Linked DNA regions of Homo sapiens: regions 1, 2 and 4 are each linked to region 3. The links are contacts of gene promoters, found by promoter capture Hi-C in human tissues and cell types (Jung and others, 2019). All regions are on one chromosome and are shown on one strand. Each heading gives the region's core, a stretch centred on a gene start or on the middle of the fragment in contact. The rest is flanking DNA. Distances are from core to core; before and after follow the strand shown. Region 1 holds the start of FAU (FAU ubiquitin like and ribosomal protein S30 fusion). Region 2 overlaps VPS51 (VPS51 subunit of GARP complex). Region 3 holds the start of BATF2 (basic leucine zipper ATF-like transcription factor 2). Region 4 holds the start of MIR194-2HG (MIR194-2 host gene).

The links. The method cuts DNA at HindIII sites, captures the fragments that hold promoters and counts their contacts. A contact is called where the count stands out against the background at its distance.
Region 1: the fragment with the promoter of FAU here is called in contact with the fragment with the promoter of BATF2 in region 3 in 1 of the 25 tissues and cell types used here (lymphoblastoid cells).
Region 2: a contact is called between a fragment that was not itself captured here and the fragment with the promoter of BATF2 in region 3, in 3 of the 25 tissues and cell types used here (dorsolateral prefrontal cortex, lymphoblastoid cells and mesenchymal stem cells).
Region 4: a fragment that was not itself captured here is called in contact with the fragment with the promoter of BATF2 in region 3 in 6 of the 25 tissues and cell types used here (H1 embryonic stem cells, dorsolateral prefrontal cortex, lymphoblastoid cells and 3 more).

The regions. Positions count from the first base shown.
Region 1 is chr11:65,119,124-65,123,940 of GRCh38, reverse strand. FAU (FAU ubiquitin like and ribosomal protein S30 fusion) reads left to right here and starts at 1,807. Exons shown (of 5, transcript NM_001997.5): 1 at 1,807-1,851; 2 at 2,120-2,202; 3 at 2,297-2,441; 4 at 2,905-2,960; 5 at 3,135-3,311. The coding sequence starts at 2,128. The coding sequence ends at 3,260. MRPL49 (mitochondrial ribosomal protein L49) reads right to left here and starts at 1,620. Exons shown (of 4, transcript NM_004927.4): 1 at 1,517-1,620. The coding sequence starts at 1,594. RefSeq lists enhancers at 1,330-1,599, 1,760-1,849. The HindIII fragment of the contact is 8,684 bases long and covers 1-2,235 here.
Region 2 is chr11:65,101,131-65,108,476 of GRCh38, reverse strand. It overlaps VPS51 (VPS51 subunit of GARP complex), which reads right to left. Exons shown (of 10, transcript NM_013265.4): 3 at 750-896; 4 at 455-674; 5 at 1-280. Among named protein-coding and RNA genes, the nearest start is that of TM7SF2, 7.1 kb to the left of the region's middle. RefSeq lists a silencer at 5,946-6,240. The HindIII fragment of the contact is 6,205 bases long and covers 103-6,307 here.
Region 3 is chr11:64,993,219-64,999,946 of GRCh38, reverse strand. It overlaps BATF2 (basic leucine zipper ATF-like transcription factor 2), which reads left to right and starts at 2,976. Exons shown (of 3, transcript NM_138456.4): 1 at 2,976-3,071; 2 at 5,398-5,499. The coding sequence starts at 3,033. RefSeq lists a cis regulatory region at 694-1,832 and an enhancer at 3,077-3,577. The HindIII fragment of the contact is 29,477 bases long and covers 1-6,728 here.
Region 4 is chr11:64,888,488-64,896,025 of GRCh38, reverse strand. It overlaps ATG2A (autophagy related 2A), which reads left to right. Exons shown (of 41, transcript NM_015104.3): 40 at 584-736; 41 at 817-1,480. The coding sequence ends at 1,053. It overlaps MIR194-2HG (MIR194-2 host gene), which reads left to right and starts at 2,577. Exons shown (of 3, transcript NR_133640.1): 1 at 2,577-2,615; 2 at 3,200-3,436; 3 at 6,686-7,538. MIR192 (microRNA 192) reads left to right here and starts at 4,780; the gene lies at 4,780-4,889. It overlaps MIR194-2 (microRNA 194-2), which reads left to right and starts at 4,587; the gene lies at 4,587-4,671. The HindIII fragment of the contact is 4,598 bases long and covers 1-4,192 here.

The DNA.
Region 1 (4,817 bases), core at 558-3,057, 130 kb before region 3:
ACTCCAGCCTCGGTGACAGAGCGACGAGACTCTCTCAAACAAAACAAAACAAAACAAATTCCTGCATGGCCATCTGTCCAACAACTGCCTGTCCAATCTTGAACTGGCACCACCCATGTTATTCATCCTTGTAGCCAAGGATAACTGTCTCAAAACAATTATGTAATACTCATTTTTCCTTTCCTTTATTTATTTTTATTATTTTTTTAGATAGAGTCTCACTCTGTCACCTAGGCTGGAGTGCAGTGGTGTGATCTCGGCTCACTGCAACCTCCGCCTCCCAAGTTCAAGCAAGTCTCCTACCTCAGCCTCCCAAGTAGCTGGGACTACAGGCACACGCCATCACACCCGGCTAATTTTTGTATTTTTTCTAGAGACGGGTTTCACCATGTTGGCCAGGCTTGTCTCAAACTCCTGACTCCAGGTGATCTACGCGCCTTGGCCTCCCAAAGTGCTGGGATTACAGGCGTGAGCCACCGTGCCTGGCCCATTTTTCTGTTAAAAACCTTTGTCTTCTTTTACCTCCCTGATAAGCACATAGTCTATACCCATTCCCGAATAAATATCCTTTTCTTTTAGAGTCTGTTATTTAGGTTGACATAAGATAGCACCAGTCTTTGGTTTTCCATGGTGCAGGGTACAGATGGGATGGAAAGGAGGCTCAGGTACTCTGAATGGTCTGCCTCTCAGGATTTCTGTGGGATGCAAAAGAGTATATGTACACTTCTGAAAAGTCAATCAAGCCTTTAGAAACTTAAGGCTTAACTTTCTGTCTCGGTTTTAGAAATAGATATTATTATATTGGCAGCGTGGCCTTGTTTGTACCTCCATGATTGCCTGGCTGGCCTTGCTAACCTAATCACATCTGTGACGGGATATAGTGATGTTTAATCTTATGATTGCCTTAAGAATTAAGGCAATCAGACGGGTTCGGCGGCTCATGCCTGTAATCCCAGCACTTTGGGAGGCCGAGGCGGGCGGATCACGAGGTCAGAAGATCCAGTCCATCCTGGCTAACAAGGTGAAACCCCGTCTCTACTAAAAATACAAAAAATTAGCCGGGCATGGTGGCGGGAGCCTGTAGTCCCAGCTACTCGGGAGGCTGAGGCAGGAGGATGGCGTGAATCTGGGAGGCGGAGCTTGCAGTGGGCCGAGATCGCGCCACTGCCCTCCAGCCTGGGCGACAGAGCGAGACTCCGTCTCAAAAAAAAAAAAAAAAAGAATTAAGGCAATCATAATTCCCCACGCACACTCATATGCTAGGACCCCGCCCCTTACCTGAAACGTTGTGGCTTATATAGACACTGCCAGGCACTGTGTTAAGTGCTCCCAAAGAGCACCCCAGTCTACCATTTTCCCTCTCGATTCTATATGTACACTCGGGACAAGTTCTCCTGATCGAAAACGGCAAAACTAAGGCCCCAAGTAGGAATGCCTTAGTTTTCGGGGTTAACAATGATTAACACTGAGCCTCACACCCACGCGATGCCCTCAGCTCCTCGCTCAGCGCTCTCACCAACAGCCGTAGCCCGCAGCCCCGCTGGACACCGGTTCTCCATCCCCGCAGCGTAGCCCGGAACATGGTAGCTGCCATCTTTACCTGCTACGCCAGCCTTCTGTGCGCGCAACTGTCTGGTCCCGCCCCGTCCTGCGCGAGCTGCCTGCCCAGGCAGGTTCGCCGGTGCGAGCGTAAAGGGGCGGAGCTAGGACTGCCTTGGGCGGTACAAATAGCAGGGAACCGCGCGGTCGCTCAGCAGTGACGTGACACGCAGCCCACGGTCTGTACTGACGCGCCCTCGCTTCTTCCTCTTTCTCGACTCCATCTTCGCGGTAGCTGGGACCGCCGTTCAGGTAAGAATGGGGCCTTGGCTGGATCCGAAGGGCTTGTAGCAGGTTGGCTGCGGGGTCAGAAGGCGCGGGGGGAACCGAAGAACGGGGCCTGCTCCGTGGCCCTGCTCCAGTCCCTATCCGAACTCCTTGGGAGGCCTGGCCTTCCCCACGTGAGCCGCCGCGACCACCATCCCGTCGCGATCGTTTCTGGACCGCTTTCCACTCCCAAATCTCCTTTATCCCAGAGCATTTCTTGGCTTCTCTTACAAGCCGTCTTTTCTTTACTCAGTCGCCAATATGCAGCTCTTTGTCCGCGCCCAGGAGCTACACACCTTCGAGGTGACCGGCCAGGAAACGGTCGCCCAGATCAAGGTAAGGCTGCTTGGTGCGCCCTGGGTTCCATTTTCTTGTGCTCTTCACTCTCGCGGCCCGAGGGAACGCTTACGAGCCTTATCTTTCCCTGTAGGCTCATGTAGCCTCACTGGAGGGCATTGCCCCGGAAGATCAAGTCGTGCTCCTGGCAGGCGCGCCCCTGGAGGATGAGGCCACTCTGGGCCAGTGCGGGGTGGAGGCCCTGACTACCCTGGAAGTAGCAGGCCGCATGCTTGGAGGTGAGTGAGAGAGGAATGTTCTTTGAAGTACCGGTAAGCGTCTAGTGAGTGTGGGGTGCATAGTCCTGACAGCTGAGTGTCACACCTATGGTAATAGAGTACTTCTCACTGTCTTCAGTTCAGAGTGATTCTTCCTGTTTACATCCCTCATGTTGAACACAGACGTCCATGGGAGACTGAGCCAGAGTGTAGTTGTATTTCAGTCACATCACGAGATCCTAGTCTGGTTATCAGCTTCCACACTAAAATTAGGTCAGACCAGGGCCCCCAAAGTGCTCTATAAAATTAGAAGCTGGAAGATCCTGAAATGAAACTTAAGATTTCAAGGTCAAATATCTGCAACTTTGTTCTCATTACCTATTGGGCGCAGCTTCTCTTTAAAGGCTTGAATTGAGAAAAGAGGGGTTCTGCTGGGTGGCACCTTCTTGCTCTTACCTGCTGGTGCCTTCCTTTCCCACTACAGGTAAAGTCCATGGTTCCCTGGCCCGTGCTGGAAAAGTGAGAGGTCAGACTCCTAAGGTGAGTGAGAGTATTAGTGGTCATGGTGTTAGGACTTTTTTTCCTTTCACAGCTAAACCAAGTCCCTGGGCTCTTACTCGGTTTGCCTTCTCCCTCCCTGGAGATGAGCCTGAGGGAAGGGATGCTAGGTGTGGAAGACAGGAACCAGGGCCTGATTAACCTTCCCTTCTCCAGGTGGCCAAACAGGAGAAGAAGAAGAAGAAGACAGGTCGGGCTAAGCGGCGGATGCAGTACAACCGGCGCTTTGTCAACGTTGTGCCCACCTTTGGCAAGAAGAAGGGCCCCAATGCCAACTCTTAAGTCTTTTGTAATTCTGGCTTTCTCTAATAAAAAAGCCACTTAGTTCAGTCATCGCATTGTTTCATCTTTACTTGCAAGGCCTCAGGGAGAGGTGTGCTTCTCGGGTTGGTGGTATGTCCCCTAGGAGAACAGTGAGGCAGAAAAGGCAGAAGCCTTTGGTATGGGGGGAAGAAATGGTAAACTACAAGAGAAATTTCCTGTGAAGAAACAGCTACAGATCCTGGGGGGCTTCAGATGTAAAATTGGGGTTATTCCCTATCCTAAGTAACTTGATCAGTCCCCCCAGGTCATTCTTTTTCATCTTCTAAACAGAGAAGGTAGCAGGAATCACTGTGGTGAGAGGTTTGTTATGGAGGCAGCAATAGAAGGGATGGGTGGGGGAAGAGGTTTGTATAGAAGGTGAACCTGGCCGTTCCCTGAACTTGGTACCAGCTGTGGCCTTAGAGTCCAGGGCAGGAATCTGGTCTGCCTTGGTTTTAGAAGTAAATATTATGTTGGGAGCATGGCCTCGTTTGTACCTCTGTGACTGCCTGGCCGGACTTGGTAACCTAATCACATCTGTGATTGGATATAGTGAGGTTTCAGTGTTCCCAAAAGTTGGGTTACCTCTGGGGCTGATTCAGGGTTCTCTTCTGGCAACTGAGCCTCCCAGCACTTCTGAACCCCACTTACTCATTCAGCTAAAGTTTCTGGACCTGCCAGTTCTTGAGAAATAGCATCCAACAGGGTAAAGCCCTTGGGCTGTGGACTTTGACTGCCTGAGTTTGGACCTTCTTTTTCTTCCTACTCCATTTACTGGGTGGCTGGCCTTTGAACTAACTACTAATTTAATCTCTGCCATCTCCAGGGCTGCTGTGAGGGTTAAAGGATGTAAATCAACATCTGGCTTACAGTGAGTGTGTGAATCTTGGCTATTTTTGTCTCTGTGGTGTTAAAGACATGGTTTCTGCCTTCCAGCAGTTTAGAAAGGGGGAGGATGTGGACAGATACAATAGCATCCCAGAGAGGGCCTCTTTTTTTGTTTTTCTTTTTTCTTTATTTTATTTTATTGAGACAGAGTCTCGCACTGTCGCCAGGCTGGAGTGCAGTGGCACAATCCGAGCTCACTGCAACCTCAGCCTCCCGGGTTCACGCCATTCTCCTGCCTCAGCCCCCTGAGTAGCTGGGACTACAGGCATGTGCCACCACGCCCAGCTAATTTTTGTATTTTTAGTAGACATGGGGTTTCCCCATGTTGGCCAGGATGGTCTCGATCTCTTGACCTCGTGATCGCCCACCTCGGCCTCCCAAAGTACTGGGATTACAGCCATGAGCCACAGTGCCCGGCCTTTTCTTTTTTGTTTTTGAGACAAGGTCTCTCTCATCCAGGCTGGAGTGCAGTTGCACAATCATGGCTCACTGCAGCCGCCAACTCCTGGGCCCAGGTGATCCTACTCAGCCTCCAAAGTAGCTGAGGACTACAGGCATGCACCGCCACACCTGGCTAATTTTTTGTACTTTTTTGTAGAGACAGGGTTTTGCTATGTTGCCCAGGCTGGTCTTGAACTGGGCTCAAGT
Region 2 (7,346 bases), core at 1,956-4,455, 110 kb before region 3:
CTCGGCACCTGCTGGGCCCTGGGCCGCAAACAGCTCCTGGTAGGCCGCCGCCACCTGGCAGAGGCCGCCCACGAAGCCACTGCCTCCATGGTCGGTGAACTCTAACACGTCGGGAGCCGGAGGTGAGGGCCCCAGCTCGGCCTCCAGGTTTCTCAGCTCCTTCTCCAGCCGGCCGCGGGCGTGCGCCAGGAACTCCTCGCACAGCTCCTCCGCAGGCTCGCCCAGGGCCAGCAGCAGCTCCACGCACTCTGCCTGCTCCGGGGCGCCTGAGCCGCCCTCCCTGCACGAGGGAGAGGTAGTGAAGGGCAGGGCCGGGGCTGCCGGTGGATGGGGCAGGAGCAGGAAAGCAAAGCACACACAGGGCAGGGGGACAGCTCCAGGAGGGCCCAGGAGCCGGGCACAGATGGGGCTCGGGGCTGGCGGGAGCGCTGGGGTCAGGGCAGAGGGGCCACACCTAAAGCGCTGCCGCAGCTGCTGGGCCAGGCGGGCCGTGATGACCTGGCAGTCGTCCTGGATGGCGCGGAACGAGGGCAGGTGTTGGTACTGCTGCAGCACGGCCTGCGCGCGGCCCTGGTAGCGCACCGCCTGCCCATAGGCGCCCAGTTCCACGCACTTGGTGAGGCGCGAGGGCAGCTCAAAGAGGAACTGCAGCTTCCGCAGCAGCGCGTGGACCCCTGGGGGACGGAGGGTGACGTTAGCCCCAGAGCCCCAGGAAAGGCCCACTGCAGGCCCTGCCCGGCAGCGCCCACCTGCCAGCTTGGTGATGCGCTCGTGGCGGTCCTGCAGCGTGGCGCTGATGCGAGCGCTGAAGTCGGTGATCACTGCCATGTTGGTGGCCAGCCGGTCCATCTCATCCTCCATCTTCCGGAAATCGTTCTTCATCTTCCGGATGGTGTCTAGGAGGGCAGGGGCGGGGAAAAGGGGAGAGCAGGTGACTGCAGGGCGGGCGCAACCTCAGCTCCTTCTCACCCACCCCTTCACAGACGCCCCAGCTTGCTCCAGGGGCGCATGGATGATTCCAGAGAAAGGACTGCGAGGGCGTGGGTCACAGCGCACATGGGGGCGGGGGAGGGGGTTTATGTTCCCAAAGCAGGCGTTACTCACATACTCCCCGTAACCCCCTAACCCTGGTGCCCAGGAGAGCCGGCCCTCAGAATTAGTCCAGATCCGAAGCAGGCCGCAGGTGCTTAGCCAGCTGCCACCACTGTGCCTCAACTGCTCCATCAGACCACAAGCAGCCAAGGCAGGGACCGCTGGCTCCCAAGCGCATCTGCGTGTCCAGCGCACTGCCTGGATGAGGCAATACATTCTTGTTGACCCTCATCTCCTTTCCAGACCTCCCAAAGCCTTTCACATGCTTTCCGGAACATGGGCTGTCTTCTCTGAAGGGCCCTTTCCCTTTGGTCCTGATAGAATCCTGCCTAGGGAGGCTGTTTTTCCTTTCACACACCAGGTGCCTGGGAGCCTGGTCCCTTCATGCTTCTAAATCATGCCTAGATCTCCTCTCTTCAAAACCCCGGCTTCTAGGAAGACCATGCCATCAAGCCACAACCCTCCTCTTTGCTGTCTCTACTGTCCTCTGACACTCCTCTCAGTTCCCCATCACTGCCTCTTCTCCTCCTCCTGTCACCTCCTTGTGCACATCCACATGGATGAGCCTTCCAATGTTCCTGACTGTTCACTGACGGCCTCAATTCAATTCCACCTATTCTTTTTTTTTTTTTTTGAGACTGAGTCTCGCTCTGTCGCCCAGACTGGAGTGCAGTGGCACGACCTCTGCTCACTGCAAACTCCAATTCCCAGGTTCACACCATTCTCCTGCCTCAGCCTCCCAAGTAGCTGGGACTACAGGTGCCTGCCACCACACCCAGCTAATTTTTTGTATTTTTAGTAGAGATGGAGTTTCACCATGTTAGCCAGGATGGTCTTGATCTCCTGACCTCATGATCCGCCCACCTTGGCCTCCCAAAGTGCTGGGATTACAGGCATGAGCCACCGCACCCGACGAGGTCTGATGGTTTTATAAGGGGCTCTCCCTGCTTCGCTTAACACTTCTCCTTCCTGCTGCCTTGTGAAGAAGATGCCTTGCTTCTCTTTCACCTTCTGCCATGATTGTAAGTTTCCTGAGGCCTCCCCAGCCATGCTGTGAACTGTGAGTCAATTAAACCTCTTTCCTTTATAAGTTACCTAGTCTCGGGCAGTTCTTTACAGCAGTATGAACCTGGATTAATATACCTAGTAATCAATCCATTACCAAGTCATGGAAGGTCTACCTGCAACATTTTCTTTGTAAGCCACTATCATCTCTTGTCCAACAACTGCCAACATTTCCCAACTAATTTCCCTAATTCCATTGAACATACCAACAATGTTCATAAAGAAAGGCGAAGAGGATAAGACAGAAATGTGTATCTGTAACAGGAGATATTTTGGTTTTGTTTTGTTTGAGAAAGAGTCTCACTCTGTCACCCAGGCTGGAGTGCAGTGGCGCGATCTCAGCTCTGGAGGCTCCTGGAGGGTGGCACGCCCGGGGAGGGCATGGAAACTCCATGCTCCTTCTCCTACACCTCGCCCTATGCACCTGCTCATCTGTACCCTTTGTAACATCCTTTGTAATAAACTGGTAAATGTGTTATCCTGAGCTCTGTGAGCCACTCCAGCAAACTGAGCCCAAAGAGGGAGTTATGGAAACCCCTACCTGGAGCCAGTTGGTCAGAAATTCTGGAGGCCTGAGGCCCTGACCTGCAGCTAGTGCCTGAAAGTGGGGAGGCAGATTTGGGACTGAACTAGTGCCTGAAGGGAGGCAGGCTTGGGGACTCAGCCCTCAACTCATGGAATCTGATGCTATCTCTGGGTAAATAGTGTTGGAATTAAATCAGAGGACACCCAGCGGGTGTCTGCTGCTTGGTGTGTGGGGAAGAAACCCAACACATTTGGTCACAGAACTCTTCTGTGGTCATGATTGTGGTGATGTGAGAGCATAGGAAGCACACAGTTTGCATTTTTCCCAAACAATGCCATAAAATATATACAAACCTTTCCATATGGTAGATCACAAAGAAAAAAACCTCATTCTTTTTTTTTTTTTGAGACAGGGTCTCCCTCCGTCGCCCAGGCTGCAGTGCAGTGGCGCGATCTCAGCTCACTGCAACCTCCACCTCCTGGGTTCAAGCGATTCTCCTGCCTCAGCCCCGAGTAGCTGGGATTACAGGCACGTGCCACCATGCCTGGCTAATTTTTGTACTTTTAGTAGAGAGGGTTTCACCATGTTGGCCAGACTGGTCTCTGACCTCAAGTGATCCACCCGCCTCGGCCTCCCAAAGTGCTGGGATTACAGGCGGGAGCCACCGTGCCCAGTCGAAAAAACCTCATTGTTAACCAATTATGAGGTCAGAAAAGGAAATCAAAACTGAAATTGCAGCATGGGTAAAATACCAAGAAAACACTAAATTGGTAAGGGCTTGGTGAATTCTATGGATGAAATGGATAATTTGCTACAAAAATAGGATTTACCAAAATGGATTGCAAAAAACAAGAAAACAGAAACAGAAAAACTAGAGAATGTTGTGAAAGAAAGGTCCTACTCCCCTTTCCCCTCCACACAAAGGCATCTGGCCCAGATGTCCAGGGGTGTTGCGGCGGCTTGAAGGACAGCGCCTTCCAATTCTCTGTGTAAACACTGCCCCAGCAGAGAAACGAGAACAGCTCTCACACAAACTTGATGGAACAAACATAACACTGTTATGAAAACATAACAGAAATACCTCACATATACACATTCATATCTCTTATGAATGGAGATGCAAGGATGAATTAAATAAACAAATGGAGATGCACAAATAAGCAAACAAAATCCAGCAGCATATTAAAATAATAATTGATAAACACAAAAGGGTTTTTGTTTCATGAATGCCAGGATGACTCAAAATTAGAGGATCTCATAATAATTTGCCATGTTAATAGATATTTCAACATCTATTCTTGATTTTTAAAAAACTCTCAATAACATATGAGCAGCTAAATATTTCCCTGACCTCCAAAACTCAGTATCATGTTTACCGAGGCAGTGCTAGAAGCACTCCAATTAAAGTCAAAACATGGCAAGGACAACCTTGATTGCCAATGTTATCTACATTGTTCTGGGGCATTAGCCAACTCAGCTAGAGTCACGAGATGTATTATGGAGATACACAAATTGGAAAGGAGGGAGAAGTATCACTATTTGCAGATGATATAATCAAATAAATAGGCCAGCCACGGTAGCTCATGCCTGTAATCCCAGCACTTTGGGAGGCCGAGGCAGGCAGATCACTTGACGTCAGGAGTTTGAGACCAGCCTGGCCAACATGGTAAAACCCTGTCTCTAGTAAAAATACAAAAAGTAGTTGGGCGTGGTGGCAGGTGCCTGTAATCCTAGCTACTGGGAAGGCTGAGGCAGGAGAATCGCTTGAACCCTGGAGGCACAAGTTGTAGTGAGCTGAGATTGTGCCACTGCACTCTAACCTGAGTAATAGAGCAACACTCTGTCTCAAATAATAATAATTGAATAAATAGAAAGCCCTAAAAAAAAAAAACAAAAAAAAACACCCTGTAAACGTTACTATAAACAATAAGAGATACCACTTTTCACTTCTCAGATTGTCAAAGATTGAAAGAGGTATTCTCTTCTTTGCTGGTGGTTATGCAAACTGATCAGCATTTACAAAGAAGAATCTGGAAATATCTAACTGCAATCACTTGTGAGCCTTCACACACCCACACCTGGTCTGTGTGTGGCTCTGGGACTGTAGGAATGTTCTCCAAGCAACACTGGGAATCTACCCCACTTGGGGAGACAGCTGGAAGGGTGAGTAAGGAGAAAAGCATTGATGTCAATTTGACAAGAAACAAACAGAAACAAAAAATGCAGGAAAAAAATATTAGAGAAAATATAAGAGAAAGAACTGTCTGAGACAAAGAATCTACAGGGCTCACATCTGTAGAGCTATTAAGGGATTTTTTAAAAAATTACATGGAAAGGTAGATTACGTATCAGCAAAATGGACTTTTCATTTTAACAACACAGTCCACAAGAAAGGATCATTTAGCCCTCTTAGAGATGATTTCATAGAAAGGAAGGTTACTAAGGAATAAAATCACATGATGTGAAACATCTATATTACTTTTGGGACCATAGGGACCATTGCCTGCATTTTGTTGGGGAAATCATAATTATTTTGAGTTTCTTTGCTTGAGATAGGGTCTTGCTCTGTCTACAGGCATGGTGATGCACACTTATAATCCCAGCTACTCAGGAGGCTAAGGCAGGAGAATCACCTTAACTGGGGAGGCGGAGGTTACAGTGAGCCAAGATGGCATGCAGTGGTGCAAACACAGCTTACTGCAGCCTTGAACTCTGGGGCTCAAGTGATCCTCCTACCTTAGCTTCTGAAGTAGCTGGGACTACACACAAGCGCCATCACACCCGGCTAATTTTTTAATTTTTGTTTAAATTTTGTGTAGAGATGGGGTCTCTCTATGTTGCCCAGGCTGGTCTCAAACTTCTGGGCTCAAGCAATGCTCCCACTTCAGCCTCCCAAAGTGCTGGGAGCACAGGAGTGAGCCACTGTGCCTGGCAAGAAAATTTTTCTTGCCAATTCATAGATGGTGAACTAAAGGACATAGCAAAGGCAGCGCTATGCAGTGAAAAACAATAAAAGCAGAGCCGAGGCTGAGGTTCGTAAAGGGATCATGGGCTACTGATCTAAGGGAGACAGACAGAGGCTTGGCAGTTGATGAGGCATTTGGTCTTCACCCAGTGAATTACTGGTTTTGTTTACAGGCCATGTGACACAATCTCCTTCCAGGTCTGCCAAAAGCTACCATGAAAAGAGCAGACTCTTTTGGTAGTGGGTGTTTGAGCCCATGACACTTAGGGGCTACCTCAAGAAGGAAGCTTGAATCCAACTTCTAAAGGGTAAAATCCAAACACTAAGTTGTTAGGAAAATAGAGTAAAAGAAAACCCAACAGTGCTGTGTGCTGTCATTGTCGCTGCCTTCCCAGCCATGGAGCCATTACACTGGAGATAAAAGTTGTACCATATCCAAAAACAACAGTGAAAGCATCCACACCATTCAGTCACAAAGACTACACTGTTTATCTTTGCATTTCAAGCTTGTTAAGAAAAGCAGGCTGGGCACAGTGGCTCACGCCTGTAACCCCAGCACTTTGGGAGGCCAAGGCAGGTGGATCACCTGAGGTCACCTGCCTGACCAACATGGTGAAATCCCGTCTCTACTGAAAATACAATAATTAGCCAAGTGTGGTGGCAGGTGCCTGTAATCCCAGGTACTTGGAAGCCTAAGACAGGAGAATCACTTGAACCCCGGAGGCGGAGGTTGCAGTGAGCCGATTGGGCCACTGCACTCTAGCCTGGATGACAGAGCAAGACTCTGTCTCAAAAAAAAAAAAAAAAAAAAGCTTGTTAAGAAAAGCAGTTTGTAACCAGGGAGAGTGAAAGCCATCTGGATGCGAGGATGTTGGCTACCTTGGGAGGGGACTGGGTGGTAACTGGTAGGAGGCTCAGGGGGCTTTGCTGGTTATGCTGTTTCCCGACCTGGATGCTGATTATGTGACTGTGCTCCCTTTGTGAAATCCATGGAGCTGTCCACTTATGTGCACTTTTCTGTATGTCTGTTAATTTTCTTTTTTTTTTTTTTTTTTTTTTTTTTTTTGAGACAAGGTCTGGCTCTGTCACCCAGGCTGGAGTGCAGTGACACAATCTTGGCTTACTGCAACCTCTGCCTCCCAGGTACAAGCCTTCCACCTCAGCTTCCTGAGCAGCTCGGACTACAGGGACACAACACCACACCCAGCTAATTTTTGTATTTTTTGTAGAGACAGGTATAACCTGTTGGCCAGGATGGTCTCGAACTCCTGAGCTCAAGCAATCTGCCTGCCTCTGCCTCACAAAGTGTTGGGATTATAGGTATGAGCCATAATCCCACCTGGGCTCTGTTAATTTTCAGTGAAATGTACTGTCAAAGACTGCTTTGTCTTTGCCTAGAGAAAAGAATTAGGAGAGGCTTTTCCCTGTATAATGTTTGAGATCTTTCTAATTTTGACACAAGTAAATGCATTATTACATAATGAAACTCAATGTCTAGGTGAGAGGTTGGCAAACTACAGCCTGCAGGCCAAATCTGGCTCAATGCCTGGTTTTCTTTTTAATTGGGATATAATTGACATACCAATTCAGTGGTTTTTAATATGTTTAATATATTCACAAGGTTGTACAACCAACCTCACTACGTAATTCCAGAACATTTCATCATCCCCTAAAGAAACCCTGTAACCCTTGGCAGTC
Region 3 (6,728 bases), core at 1,727-4,226:
GGACTTTAATTAATTAATTCATTAATTGAGCATCTATTACGTGAAGGCAGTGTTTGAAGCACTGGGGATCCTTCAAAGAACCAGTCCTGCCATGTAGGAGCTCATTGGTAGCTGTGGTATTTGGGAGGCCTCCAACCCTCCACCCACTGGGGCTGCTGGCTCTGGACTAATGGACCAGGCCTTTCCAAGCAGAGTGTGGAGCAGGACTGAGGCCTAGAAGAGAGAGGTTGTGTTCTCCCTGCAGCTCTGCCCCTCCCGTGGAGTGACCTTGCCCCTCTGGGCATTAGTTTCCTCACCCTCTTTTATGAACTGAAAGTTTGTGTTCCCCCCCCAAACTCACACACTGAAGTGCCAACCCTTGGTAAGATGGTATTTGGAGGTGGGGCCTTCAGGAGGTAATTAGGCTTAGATAAGGTTGTGAGGGTGGGACCCTACAATGGGATGAGTGTCTTTATAAGAAGGCAGAGAGACCGTGTGAGAATACGGCAAGAGTGCCACCATCTTCCAGCCAGGAAGAGGCCTTGCCAGGAGCCAAACCTACCAGCACCTTGCTCTTGGATTTCTCAGCCCTCAGAACTGCGAGAAATAAAAGGCTGTCATTAAGCCACTCAGTTTCTGGTATTGCATTATAGCAGCCTGAGCTGACTGAGACACCGTCTAAGGCGAGGTCAGATTGGATGGTCCCACCAGCCTGGGAGAAGTCTCCCACAGCCATTCCTAGTTAAACATTACCCACCCTACCTCCCTCCCTCCCTGCCACTCCCTCTCCCAGCTGCCTCCTCAGGGAGCCATAAACGCTGCCTTCTTTGGTCTTCTCCCAGGGCTGTGGTGTTCTGGGAAGAGCTACACCTGCTGTCTCACCTCTGCCAGAAGCCAGGGTCTGGAGAAGAAAGACTGGGGGTCTGGGGCAGGGGCTGGGATCTGGAGTGGGACACTCAGGCCTAGCCCCTCCACACACACACACACACACACAAGCACACACGGGTGTTTCTTCGTAGTCACATCATGCACAAGGTGCCTGCAGATCCTCCCAGGGGAGCTCATGGGCTGGCTTAATGAGCCCTTCAGGTGCCTGCCTCAGGCAAGACGCCCCAGCCTTCCTGGTTTCCAGGAAACAATAATTCAGAGAAACAGGGATGGCCTCACTGCGTGGGGCATCCCACTTCCGCCTCTGCTCCCAGGCCCCTCAGAAGCTAGGAGGGCAAGGCCCAGCTCTTATGCCCAATCTCACCCACCCAGGCATTTTAAATTAGGAGCCTGCATTAATAATCTTAGAATCCAGAATATGACACCACAAATTTCAGGAGGGGGAATCCTTGCCACATAGTACTTTACAATATCCCAAGAGCTTTCTTCTCATCTCATTCTTTCCCATCTTCAAAACAACTGTCAAATAGGTATCATTTCTTTGTGATCACCAGCATATCTTTGAAGACACTGAGGCTCCAGGTGATAAACTGGGTGAGTGGAGTGCCAGGATGGAGAGTCAAGTCTTTTGTCTCTGAAACCCAGACTTGTTTTATGCCTGGTTCTAGGGATAGCAGGGGACTGCACTCTCCACACCTCTGCCCATAACAGGCATCACTAATCGATCATGGTGTGGCAGACATTGCTAATCAACTGCAGTACTCTTTTTTACTAAGCTCAGAGGTGTCCATGAACTCTTTAAAACAACATTCCAGCCACCATCACCTATCAGAAGATCATATCTGTATTTGCCATTCTTGTGATACCACATCATCAGCCATGAGCCCTCAGGTCTCAGGTACAACTCCAAGATGCTCTAGTCACCAGACCATAGGACTCTACATACTGCATGCATGCTGTTCTTGGACAGGAATTACTGGCCCCTCTGGCCCCCAAACAGATGCCCCATCCAAGTGTCCCTCTTAGAGATACAACAAGCATGCAGGTATGCCCGGGGCTTCAGGGTTTGCTAGGTCTTTATTTTTTAATTTTTAATTAATTAATTTTTTTGAAACAAGGTCTTGCTCTATTGCCCAGGCTGGAGTGCAGTGGCAAGATTATAGCTCACTGCAGCCTTGAACTCCTGGGCTCAAGTGATCCTCTCATCTCAGCCTCCTGAGTAACTGGGAATACAGGTGTGTGCCACCATGCCCAGTTATTTTTTTTATTTTTAATATAGATAAGGTCTTGCTATGTTGCCCAGGCTGGTCTCAAACTCCTGAGCTCAAGTAATCCTCCTGCCTTGGCCTCCCAGAGTACTTGGATTACAGGCATGAACCACTGCATCTGGCCTAACAAAATTGTTTTTATCCCCACTTTACAGATTTGGAAACAGAAACACAGATGAAATTACGAACCCAAGTCACATAGCTTGGAAGCTGGGCTCCTAACCACTGGACATCAATCTTTCCACTGCTTCATGGTCTGTTGTATGAAAACAGTAATGTATCCATCTGTTCTATCCAACAGCCATTGCTTAATTTTGCAGACATGCTTCCATAGTGGTCTCAGAAGGTTTGGGGGTGGTTGTATTATCTGGCTTAGTTCCTGCAATGAGCCTGGGAGTGGGTAGTTGTACCATCCTCCAGATGAGAAAACTAGGGCTCAGAGAAGGAGAGTCACTTTCTGAAAGTTGGACAGCTCCAATGTGTGCTGTGATCCAGAGTTCCCCCAATTCCAGAGCTCAAGGGCTCTCTCTACCCCACATGAGCATCGGTCCCCACTGGCTTCTTCTCTCATCTCAGTCCCTGGCCGCCTGTCCTCCCTCCCCTAGAACACCCTCCTCATACCTGGCCTTTGGTCTTCCCTCCTCTCCACCCTCCACCATCCTCTTTCCAGAGAAGGGGCCCAACCGGAAGGCCAGTTCATGTTAGGAAATTCTAGCCACGTGAGCAAGCCTGAGCCAGGGATTCTGAGCAGCTGGTGGCTTTAGGAGAAACTGAAACTTGGCCCTCTGGGGGCGGAGTGGCCACTGGGGATTTAAAGAGCTGCCACTTCCTTAGGCCTCCAGAGGGCACTGGGAAGTCACAGCTGCTGAGGGACCACTCTGCTCCCCCGCCTAAGCCATGCACCTCTGTGGGGGCAATGGGCTGCTGACCCAGACAGTGAGTACAGGGGATTGGGGATCGGGGATGAGAAGGGGAGCTGGGATCCCGTCCTCAGTGCCCAGGCAGTGAGGGCTGCAGTCGGGAGCTCCTAGTCCCAGCTCTATACTCTGAGCAGTGTGACAGAGGGCTCTGCATGCCCCTCTCTGGGTCTCACTTTCCTCCCCCGAAGTCGGGATTGGATTGGAATGAGTTGTTTCCAGCTCTCACATTGCAGATCCAGCCTTCGGTTTAGAACTTGGCCTCTGTGTACTTGCTCTCTCCTAACGTACCTGGTCCCCCCTCACTACACTCACAGCAGCCTTTCCTTCCTTCTCCAAATAACCCAGGCCGGCTCATGCCTGTAATCCCAGCCCCTTGGGAGTCTGAGGCCGGCAGATAACATGAGGTTAGGAGTTCAAGATCAGCCTGGCCAACATGGCGAAACCCCGTCTCTACTAGAAATACAAAAATTAGCCAGGTGTGGCAGGGCACGTCTGTAGTCTCAGCTACTCGAGAGGCTGAGGCAGGAAAGTTGCTTGAACCCGGGAGATGGAGGTTGCAGTAAGCTGAGCTCATGTCACTGCACTCCAGCCTGGGTGACAGAGAGAGACTCTGTCTCAATAAAATAAAATAGGCCGGGCTCAGTGGCTCACACCTGTAATCCCAGCACTTTGGGAGGCTGAGGCGGGCAGATCACCTGAGGTCAGGAGATCGAGACCATCCTGGCCAACATGGTGAAACCCCGTCTCTATTAAAAATAGAAAAATTAGCTGGGCGTGGTGGAGGCACATGCCTGTAATCCCAGCTTCTCAGGAGGCTGAGGCAGGAGAATCACTTGAACCTGGGAGGCGGAGGTCGCAGTGAGCCAAGATCACGCCACTGCACTCCAGCCTGGGCGACAGAGACTCTGTCTCAATAAAATAAAATAAAATAAAATAAAGTAAAATAATAAATAAATTCCCTGGGCCATGGTTTCCCTTGGAGGCTCTGCTTATCTCACAGGAGCCCCCTTCACTCACCGTGGGTCCTGTCTCAGCCTTTAGTTTCTTGGTGCCCCAGTGTCTACAGTGAGCCCGCTGTGGACATGGCCCAAGGGAGCATATGGAGCAGGAGCCTAGGAGCATTCAGAATCTGCAGCCAGGGCGGCCAGGGCCTTGCCTGAGGTCCTTACCCTCAAAACACATACCCCAGAGAGACTTGGGGGCGGGGGCTGGGCTGTGAGCTCTCCAACAGTCCCTCTTGCTCTGACTTTGCAGAGCTCTGGACATTTGGGTAAAATATTTTATCTAAGTTTCATTGATCCCAGGGTACAAGGTGGTCACAACCTTTGAGTCCACTCTTCCACCGGAATAAACCCTTCATTCATTCATCCTTCGCTACCACCCCACTACAATGTGAGCAATTTCAGGGCAGGGATTTGTGTGTATTTTGTTTGCTATCATGTCCCTCTAGCTTACTGCCTGGAACATAGTAGGTGCTTATACATGTTTGTTGAGTAAGTGAATATCTGCTTTGGGCTTGAGCTGGGCATGAGCACAGAGAACCACATCTGCCCTCATGGAGCTCACAGTTAGGAAAGTTCACACCTTGGTGTGGAAATCATGGCAATGAGAAGAATGGAAGCTGAGCTTTATGGCACGCCGGCTCTGGGCTGCCTGCCGCATGGGCTTTAACCCTCTGCTGTGGTGCTTCCATTGCAGGGATGGGGCGATTGGGTTCAAGAATATGGGGCTCGGCTGGGCACGGTGGCTCACACCTGTAATCCCAGCACTTTGGGAGGCCGAGGCTGGTGAATCACCTGAGGTCAGGAGTTCAAGACCAGTTTGAGATGAGCCTGGCCAACATGAGGAAACCCCATCTCTACTAAAAATACAAAAATTGGCCAGGAATGGTGGCAGGTGCCTGTAGTCCCAGCTACTTGGGAGGCCGAGGCAGGAGAATTGCTTGAACCCGGGAGTCAGAGTTTGCAGTGAGCCAAGATAGAGCCGCTGCACTACTCCAGCCTGGGCAACAGAGTGAGACTCTGTCTCAAAAAAAAAGGAAAAAAGAATGTGGGGTTTGAAGTTGGCTCTGTCTGAGTTTGAATCTCAGGCTTCCCATCTTCCCTGCTTGCCCTCCCACCCTCCACATGAGCGGTGAGCAGGACACAGGGGTGAGGCTGGCGTTCCAACAAGGTGTGCAGTGCCTGCTATAGGGGGTGTGGGTGCCAAGGGAGCTTCTGGGAGATAAAAGACCCTTGGGAACTTGACTCAAGGGGAAAGACTTGGCTTTACAAATGGCGGGCCAGGACGGAGGGCACAAGGCCTGGCTGGGCCCCCTGAGTCCTCTGCCTCATGCCCCACAGGACCCCAAGGAGCAACAAAGGCAGCTGAAGAAGCAGAAGAACCGGGCAGCCGCCCAGCGAAGCCGGCAGAAGCACACAGACAAGGCAGACGCCCTGCACCAGGTGTGGACAACCCCTAACCCCTTTCCTTGTCTCTGGCTCCACTTACTGGCCCAGCCACCTCTTCTCCATCCCACCTTTGAGCAGACCTCCCCCAAACTCCTGTATTTTTCTAGGTCACCTGAGTTTGGGATGAGAAAAGGATCCTGTGGCTGACATTTGGAAAGTTCTGGGTGTTGAGTACAAACCATGTGCCAGGTACACACCAGGCTCCAGGGACACAAAGGGTCATCCTCAGCCCAGCCGTGTCCTAAGGTGTCCGCAGTCTAGGGGAAGGAAGACAGGAAGTGGAGGCAAATAGGGAGACCCCAACACAATGGCCAGCTGAGACACTGGTTAAAATGCAGATTCCAGGCTGGGCACTGTGGCTCACACCTGTAATCCTAGCACTTTGGGAGGCTGAGGCTGGAGGATTGTTTGAGCCCAGGAGTTCAAGACCAGCCTGGGCAATATAGTGAGACTCTGTCTCTACAAAAATTAAAAAATAGTTAGCTGGGCGTGATGGTGCACACCTGTAGTCCCAGCTACTCAGGAAACTGAGGCAGGAGGATCGCTTGAGCCCAGAAGTTCAAGGCTGCAGTGAGCCATGATTGTACCACTGCATCCAACCTGGGCAACAGATTGAGACCCTGTCTATAGAAAAAAAAAAGTGGATTATTCTTCCTCTGCCAGGTCCCACCTCATGAGGCCAGGTGGGCCCAGGGACCTGCACGGTGATTTGTGATTAATCACCTGGGGGTCAGAATTCAGGAGGTGACCAAGACCATACTGTGAGAACTCTGGTTCAGGGTTAAAATGGGCAGGGTTTCCAGTCCCAGTTGCAAGTTGCTTCCTTTACTGAGCTTCATGCTCATCTGAAAATACCATAAACAGTGGCTTAAACAATAGACATTTATTTCTCACAGTTTTGGAGGCTGGGAAGTCCAAGATCAAGGTGCCAGCCAATTCAGTTCCAGATGAGGGTGCTCTTCCTGACTTGTAAGTGGCTGCCTTCTCGCTGTGTGCTCATGGCCTCTCAGTGCATGTGAGAGGACAGAGTGATCTCTTTCCCTTCCTCTCCTTTTTGGGATTTTTGTTGTTGTTGTCATTTTTGAGACAGAGTCTCACTCTGTTGCCCAGACTGGAGTGCAGTGGCGCCACTTGGCTCACTACAACCTCTACCTCCTGGGTTCAAGTGATCCTCCTGCCTCAGCCTCCTGAGTAGCTAGGATTACAGGCATGCGCCACTACGC
Region 4 (7,538 bases), core at 644-3,143, 100 kb after region 3:
GGTCCTAGGCGGCTAAGGGGTGAGTGCAGGTGCATGGTGCATTCTGGAACCTGCAAGCTCAGACCCCAACAGGACAGAGGGCAGGGCTCCAGGGGAGGTGGGAGGGATGCATGGGCACCAGGGAGCCCCCGGGAGTGTTCAGTCAGGTGGGAAAGAGTGATGCCAGGTGAGATGCTGGGCAGAGGATCTGGCAGACAGAAGGAAGGATGGGCCTCTGACCATCTGGCAGGGGCGTCTGGGGGGCCAGGCAAGGAGCGGTCAGTCTCAGGCGTGCAGCTGCGGCAGCCATGTGGAACCTGCTGAATGTGGTGGTCAGCAGGAAGAGAGGTTTGGGTTGAGAAGACTTTAGGAAAGTCCCCTGAGGAGTCCCACGTTCCTAGGTTCCCTCAGCAGAGTGGCAGGTGCCTAGGAAGGGGAGGAAGAGTGGGAGGAAGTGGGGAGTGAGGCTGAGCAGGACCCCCTAGGCCAGCACAGTGACAGGCAGGGAGGCTGAGGGCTGGTGGGGTCTCAGACTGTCCTGGGGGCCTGGGGCTGACGTGTGCCCCAGCCAGCTGTCCTCATCCAGTGCTCCCATGTCCCCCAGGCCACAGCTGAGACCGTGTATGACATCCTGTCCCCGGCAGCCCCCGTCTCCCGCTCCCTGCAGGATAAGCGCTCTGCGCGGAGGCTGCGCAGGGGCCAGCAGCCTGCCGACCTGCGGGAGGGTGTGGCCAAGGCCTACGACACAGTGCGAGAGGTGACCAGGCCCCCGCCCTGCCCCAGTCCCCCATGCCCATCTCCTCACACAGACCCCGCCCTGACCTCTGGCTTCCACAGGGCATCTTGGATACAGCTCAGACCATCTGTGACGTGGCATCGCGGGGCCATGAGCAGAAGGGGCTGACGGGCGCCGTGGGGGGCGTGATCCGCCAGCTGCCCCCGACTGTGGTGAAGCCGCTCATCCTGGCCACGGAGGCCACGTCCAGCCTGCTCGGGGGCATGCGCAACCAGATTGTCCCCGACGCCCACAAGGACCACGCCCTCAAGTGGCGCTCGGACAGTGCCCAAGACTGAGCCTGGGGTGCCCGGCACCCAGAGGGTGCTGCCCACCATGCTCCTGAGCCTCCCAAGAGCTGCAGCCCACGGGCCCGGCCCGGCCTGGCCCTTCAGGGGATGGCCACTGTGAAGGACGCCTTCCCAGCCTGCCCGTTGCCAATCTGCTGTGAGAGGGGGGCCTCCCTGCCTTGGGGCCTTAGCCCTGGCTCTGCACTTTTCCTCCGGGGAGAAAGGACACTGCCCCTCCCCCGACCTGGGCCCACACTGCTGCCTTCTCCCAGGACGGAGGCTTTTGGACCCTCGGACCCCATCCCACTCAGCCAAGTGTCTTTCTGTGTCTGGGGGGAGGAGGGGATGATATCCGTGTGGTTCGATGTATTATTTTTAAGCTCCGTGAGTGCGTGGGTCAGTGTCTGCATGAAGTGGAATAAACTGCCCACCGCCAGCCCCCCTCTCAGATCCTCTGTCCCTGTGAACCCTGGCCTCAGCCTTGACCTTGGCCCCGCCCCAGATCCCACCTCTGCACCCAGCACCTCCCATGTCACCACCAGGGGTCGCCATGCCTCCTGGCCTTGCCCAGCAGATCAGGGCACAGGGGGACCCAGAGGCACCCAGCCCTGCACGCCTTCCCCTGGCTCTGGGCTCTGCCTTGCCCCTCCCAGGAGGCTGCCACTCCAGCCCCACTCCTGATGTGGCAGGAGCTACGTGGGGCTGCCAGGGGAGGGAGGGATGGTCCTTGGAGCCCAGCTGACCCTGCCTGGTTGTCACTTGAGGCCACTCGGGGAAGGCTGAGCCTGAGGCATTCTAGATGTTGCTCTCACCATCCCTAGTGGGGGCTTTTGGGGTGGCCCAGGCCTTGGCCCCTTGGTTTCCACTCTGATCTGGGGTCCCAGCTCCAGCACTTGGAGGGGGGAGGGGTGCTGGAGCAGCGCTGCAGCCGGAATCCCAACCCTCACTGCACAAAGCTTTACACAGGACCAGGGAGCGCCCATTGCCCCCCACACATCTTGTTTCTTGTGAGCTGCTCCCATCGCGCTCCTCCCTGCCCTGCTTCCCAGTGGCGCTGCACAGAGGTGGGTGGGTCCATGGGGAAACCAAGGCTCGGGTTGGGAATCAGGGAACCCTCACCTTGCTAGGTTCCGCAGGCCTCTGGGGTTAGCAAAGGTCCCCCAGCCCTGCTCTGTGGCCCCTTCTGAGTGGGGGAGATCTGGGTACTGGGAACAGAGCAGAAGCTTTGTCCCGAGGGACCCTGGGGTCCTGGCTGCCCACGGACAGCTGGGGCAGCAGGCTGGTAAGAGACCAGGAGGGCGAGGCCCTGGAGGAGACAGGGCTGTGGAGACTCGGTGCTGATGCCACCCGGAGAGGCAGATGGGGCCCAGCCTGATGCTTCCTGGACCCGCCCCACCCTGCCCGGGCACAGTCCAGGGCTTCCTGCCCTTCGAACCGCACTTGTGATCAGTATTGACGGTGGTGGGATAATCATTAACCACCACCAGGGGCTGGGTCAACGGCTCAAAAGGCCCTGGGCCCAGGGTGTCCCCACTTCCTCCTTGTGCCCCGAAGGCCAGCCCGGCACTCAGGTAAGAGGCTTCCTGAGTGGTAGGACCCCTGCCGCCCTCCCTGTCCTAGGAGGCTCCTGAACCCAGGCACCTCTCTGAAGGGTGGCCAATCCTGAGGAAGAAAGGGACCTGGACAGCCATGGGGTGGCCGGGACGAGCCCCTTCCTCTCTGTGCCTTGGTTTCCACTGTGGGATAAGGGGGCCTTAGCATCAGCGCTCAGAGCTGTGGAGCCAGGATTCCTGATCGGGCGCTGTCTCTGCCAGGCCAGGGCACTTGGACACCACGCTGCAGGAGGCTGGTCTCGCCCAGGCCTCTGTGGGAAGGGCCGCCAGGCTGAGTGGAGGGCCAGCCACCAGCTACGGTGTCTTCCTTCGCAGGTCTGTCCCCCCAGGCAGAAGGATTCCAGCCCAGGGATCCCCCATCCCACCCTGACTGCATCCTGAGAAGGGGGGACGCCACTTCGGGAAGGTTGTTGGGGCAGCACAGGCCCTGGGGCCCTGCTCTGTGACCTTGGGCGGCCCCCTCTGTCTCTCTAGGCCTGTATGCACCACTGGCAAAGGGGGCAGGGCCCAAGTCTACTCTAAAAGCTCCCCTTTCTCTCCAGAAGCTTTGGAGTCTCCCAAAATGCCTGCTGGGTCTCTGCAGGACTGGCACCTGTCACCGGAACCTGTCTGGGAGGGACGAGAACACGCTTTGCAAGAGGAAGCTCTGCCTCACAGAGCCCTGGGCTCACTCAGGGACCCTGGCCAGCAGCTGCTTCCTCTCCCCACAGCGGAGAGAGACCCAAGGGTCCCAGGGCGGATGCTTCCCACCAGGCCAGCCCAGCGTGCAGGGTGGCCTCGTAAGTCCTGATTGACATATGGACAGTGGTTCAGAGAGGTTACGCTACTTGCTCAAGGTCACCCAGCTCCCAGGCCCCTGCTGTCTTCCAGGCCACTGAGGTCCTAAGCGTCCTTCCAGGCGAGCCACTGCTCACAGCCTGTTCCTCATGTTCTGCGGCAGGTTTGTGTATCTACATCTTTTCCAGTTCCCTGTCGTCCCCCTTCCTACACCTCGTCATCCACTATCCCTGTTTGTTTTCTCTGTTCCTTTCTAGTTCTCTACCTGCTCCTCTTATTTTTATTTGAGACAGGGTCTTTCTTTGTCACTGAGGCTGGAGTGCAGTGGCACAATCCCAGCTCACTGGAGCCTCGACCTCCCAGGCTCAAGTGATCCCCCGCCTCAGCCTCTTGAGTAGCTGGGACCACAGGCATGCATCACCACACCAGGCTAATTTTTTATTTTTTGTAGAGATGGGGTCTCACTGTGTTGCCCAGGCTGGTCTTGCACTCCTGGGCTCAAGAGATCCTCCCACCTTGGTCTCCCAAAGTGCTGGGATGCCAGGTGTGCACCGCCATCCTCGGCCTTACTCTTCTCTTCCTCTCTCAGCCCCTCTGCCTCACTATCCCTCTTTCTGTGCCCTCCCCCACACAGCCCCCCACACTTCTTCTTAGTCTCATCTTCAGCTTCCCATACGAGGCCATCCTCATGAAATCAGGCACTGGGAGGTCCCTGGGGACTGACAAGTGCCAGCTGTCCCTTGCTGTCTCTCTGCCCCATGGCTGCAGCAGGGAGGGTGGGCAAAGGGCAGAGGTGACAGTGGCCAAACCTGAAACTGAGGCCCAGCTCTGGTTGGGAAAGAAACAAGGAAACAAAATAACTTGGGGACAGAGGGCGTGGGGTCATCAGAGCGGGCAAAGGCTGCCCAGGAGTTGTAAATCCGAGCCGCTCCCGGCTTTATGAGGCCGATTTGGGGTTGAGCCTGGACTTTGCCCAGGAAGGAGTGCTGGCAGCACACGGGGCGCCAGGTGTGGGCCCCGGATGATAAGAAGCCTCGGTGAAAAGACCATGGACCTGGGGCCACGAAGACTGGGGAGCCCAGGTGAGTGGGCATGGGACACTCTCCAGAGCCCTGCCGAAGGCGGACGCCAGGCAGGGCCCCGGTCTCCAATTGGTTCCCGCCCCCTGTAACAGCAACTCCATGTGGAAGTGCCCACTGGTTCCAGTGGGGCTGCTGTTATCTGGGGCGAGGGCCAGTACCCACGAAGAAGGAGAGGCAGGTGCTGGCCAGCAGACCAGCCAGGACTACCGTGGCGACGCTCCCAGGCCAGATGGTGGCGGGTAGTGGAGGGCTGTCGGTGGGCTGCCGAGACCGAGTGCACAGGGCTCTGACCTATGAATTGACAGCCAGTGCTCTCGTCTCCCCTCTGGCTGCCAATTCCATAGGTCACAGGTATGTTCGCCTCAATGCCAGCCACCAGGACCTGCAGGGATAGGGGAGGGCCGGGGGTGTCCAGCAGTCAGCAGAGATCCTGCGACCCCAGTGCAGCACTCATGGTCCCACCTCCCTCTGTCTCATTCCCCGTGAATGAGCCTGAACAGCTTCAGTCCTGCCCCTGCCCTGCCTGCCCTGTGGCACCTCTATGCTTTGCCCATGCTGTTCCCTTGGGCTGCAATACTCTTCCTAGCTTATTTGCCAGGCTCACTCTTACTAACCCTTTCAAGCTCTGTCCAAGCATTTGCTGCCTCCAGAAGGCCTTATTGAAGCTTCTAAGTCCCCACCTGGGCACCCCCACACAGTGCTGCCGCAGAGCACTGCCCTCTCGGAGCCCCGGTGCTGGTTTCTGCTTATGTCTCGCTCCTCTCCCCATCTGTGAGCTCAGTTCCCAGCCCAGGCGCGTGCCCAATAAATGTTTGCTGAACCAATCCTGAGCCTCTGTCTTGCACCCTGAGGAAGCACCCACCGACATGCAGTGTGGCCAAGGGGGGCTGAGTGCTCTAGGCCCAGTGTTTGTGCTGGAGCCCCCCCACCCAGGATGGGGCCCTGAGCCAGCCTCCCCATCTGCTTCCTACTCTCCCCTCCTTTGCCAGTCTCATCTCCCTGGAGCACAGCCCTGTGGTTGGTGGAGCAGCTTCTCCAGCCCCTAGGATTCCTAAGAGGGCCCAGGACCCCAGCTGCTGGTAGAGGAAGAGCAGCCAACCCAGGACAGGACAGCTGACCCCACCCCTGTCCCGCCTCCCACAACAGCCTCATTTCCACCTATTTCTTTGTGGTGTTTGTTTGTTTGTTTTGAGACAGAGTCTTGCTCTGTTGCCCAGGCTGGAATGCAACAGGCTTCCTCCCAGGAGGAAGCCTCCCCTCCTGGCATGATCTCAGCTCACTGCAACCTCTGCCTCCTGGGTTCAAGCGATTCTCCTGCCTCAGCCTCCCAAATAGCTGAGATTACAGGCATGCACCACCATGCCCAGCTAATTTTTGTGTTTTTAGTAGAGACTGGGTTTCACCATGTTGGCCAGGCTGGTCTCGAACTCCTGACCTCAGATAATCTGCCCACCTCGGCCTCCCAGAGTGCCGGGATTATAGGTGTGAGCCACCGCGCCCAGCCCCACCTGTTTCTTATACAACGGGGTTCTGAGGAAATTTTCCTTTTTTTTTTTTTTTTTTTTTGAGACAGGGTCTTGCTCGCTTTGTCACCCAGGCTGGAGCGCAGTGGTACAATCACAGCTTGCTGCAGCCTCCACCTGCCAGGGCTCACACAGTCCTCCCATCTCAGCCTCCCAAATAGCTGTGACTACAGGCACGTGCCACCATGCCTGGTTAATTTTTGTATTTTTCGTAGAGATGGGGTTTCACCATGTTGCCCAGGCTGGTCTCAAATTCCTGGCCTCAAGCAGTCCTGCCTCAGCCCCCCAAACTGCTGGGATTACAGGCATGAGCCACTGTGCCCTGTCAGAATTTTTCATTTGAATAAAAAGGTTTCTGGTACTACAAAATAAAATTTGTAAAATGGGAAATAGAGACCTAGGAATAAATGTCAAATTGCTTAATAACAGGCGTTGGCTATTGAGCCCTTTCTGTCTGCTGGGCACGCACATCCAGGACCTGGTCCTCCTGGCATCCATCATGAACCTGTTTGGGACAGGAGGACACAGGCTCAGAGAGGGTGCACATTTGCTGAAGTCACAGAGCAAGTTGGACCTTCTCCTGGGGACTGTAGGCAGCCAACAAACATCTGGCCCCTAAGACACTGTCTCTCTCCCCTTCCCACAGGCAGCTCTGCTCACACTGTCCTGGCTGCTCTGAATCCCTGGGCCCCGATTGGCCCCTGCCGTGGCCCAGCTCAGCAACCCCTCCCTGCAGACCATCCCATGACTCTGCAGGCGCTGCTCCCCTCTCTGCCCACACCCCGGCTTCGTGGGCCTCTCCCGCCACCCTTATCTCATTCCCTACAGAGTTAAGGAGCCCTGTGTGCTTATCTAATCCTGTGCTAGTTTCAGACTCCTTGAGGGCAAGGTCCATGACTTACTCATCCTCCCTGGCTGCTTCCCCCACCCACCAGCATAGTAGGTGTTCAGGATACATGGGCTGGATGGTAGGGCCCTGGACTCTAACCCTCTTGGGGCTGTCAGGCCTCAGACTCAGAGCACTGGCATAGGGTGAAAGGGGAGCAGACAGCAGCCACCCTGCCCTGGGGGTCCTCCTGCATCTGCCTCTGCAGAGCACTGCGATCCCACAAAGGCCTGCGAGGGCTATTGGAGACCTGTTCCAATGCATGAGCAAGGCGGATCCAGCACCCTCCCCCAGCTCCTTGAGCCCACTGACCTGTGTCCTTTACCCAGCAGGCCCTGGGCCCATGCACATTTCCCTGGCCTGGGTCTCACCTCCAACCCCTCTCAGAACTCCTCAAGACCTGCCCAAGGGTCACTCCCTCGCGGACACCTGCCTGGCCCCCCGCCCCGCCCCCCATTACCCCACTCACTGGCTCCCTGGATGCTCTGTGGCTGGGATGTTAGCGCCCCCATCATGCCCCATCACCCACACCGGGCTATTTCCCCCACCAGCCTGAAAGCCCCCAGGAGTGGCGGCCACTGACTTTTTTCCTGTAGCCTCAGACTCAAAGGAG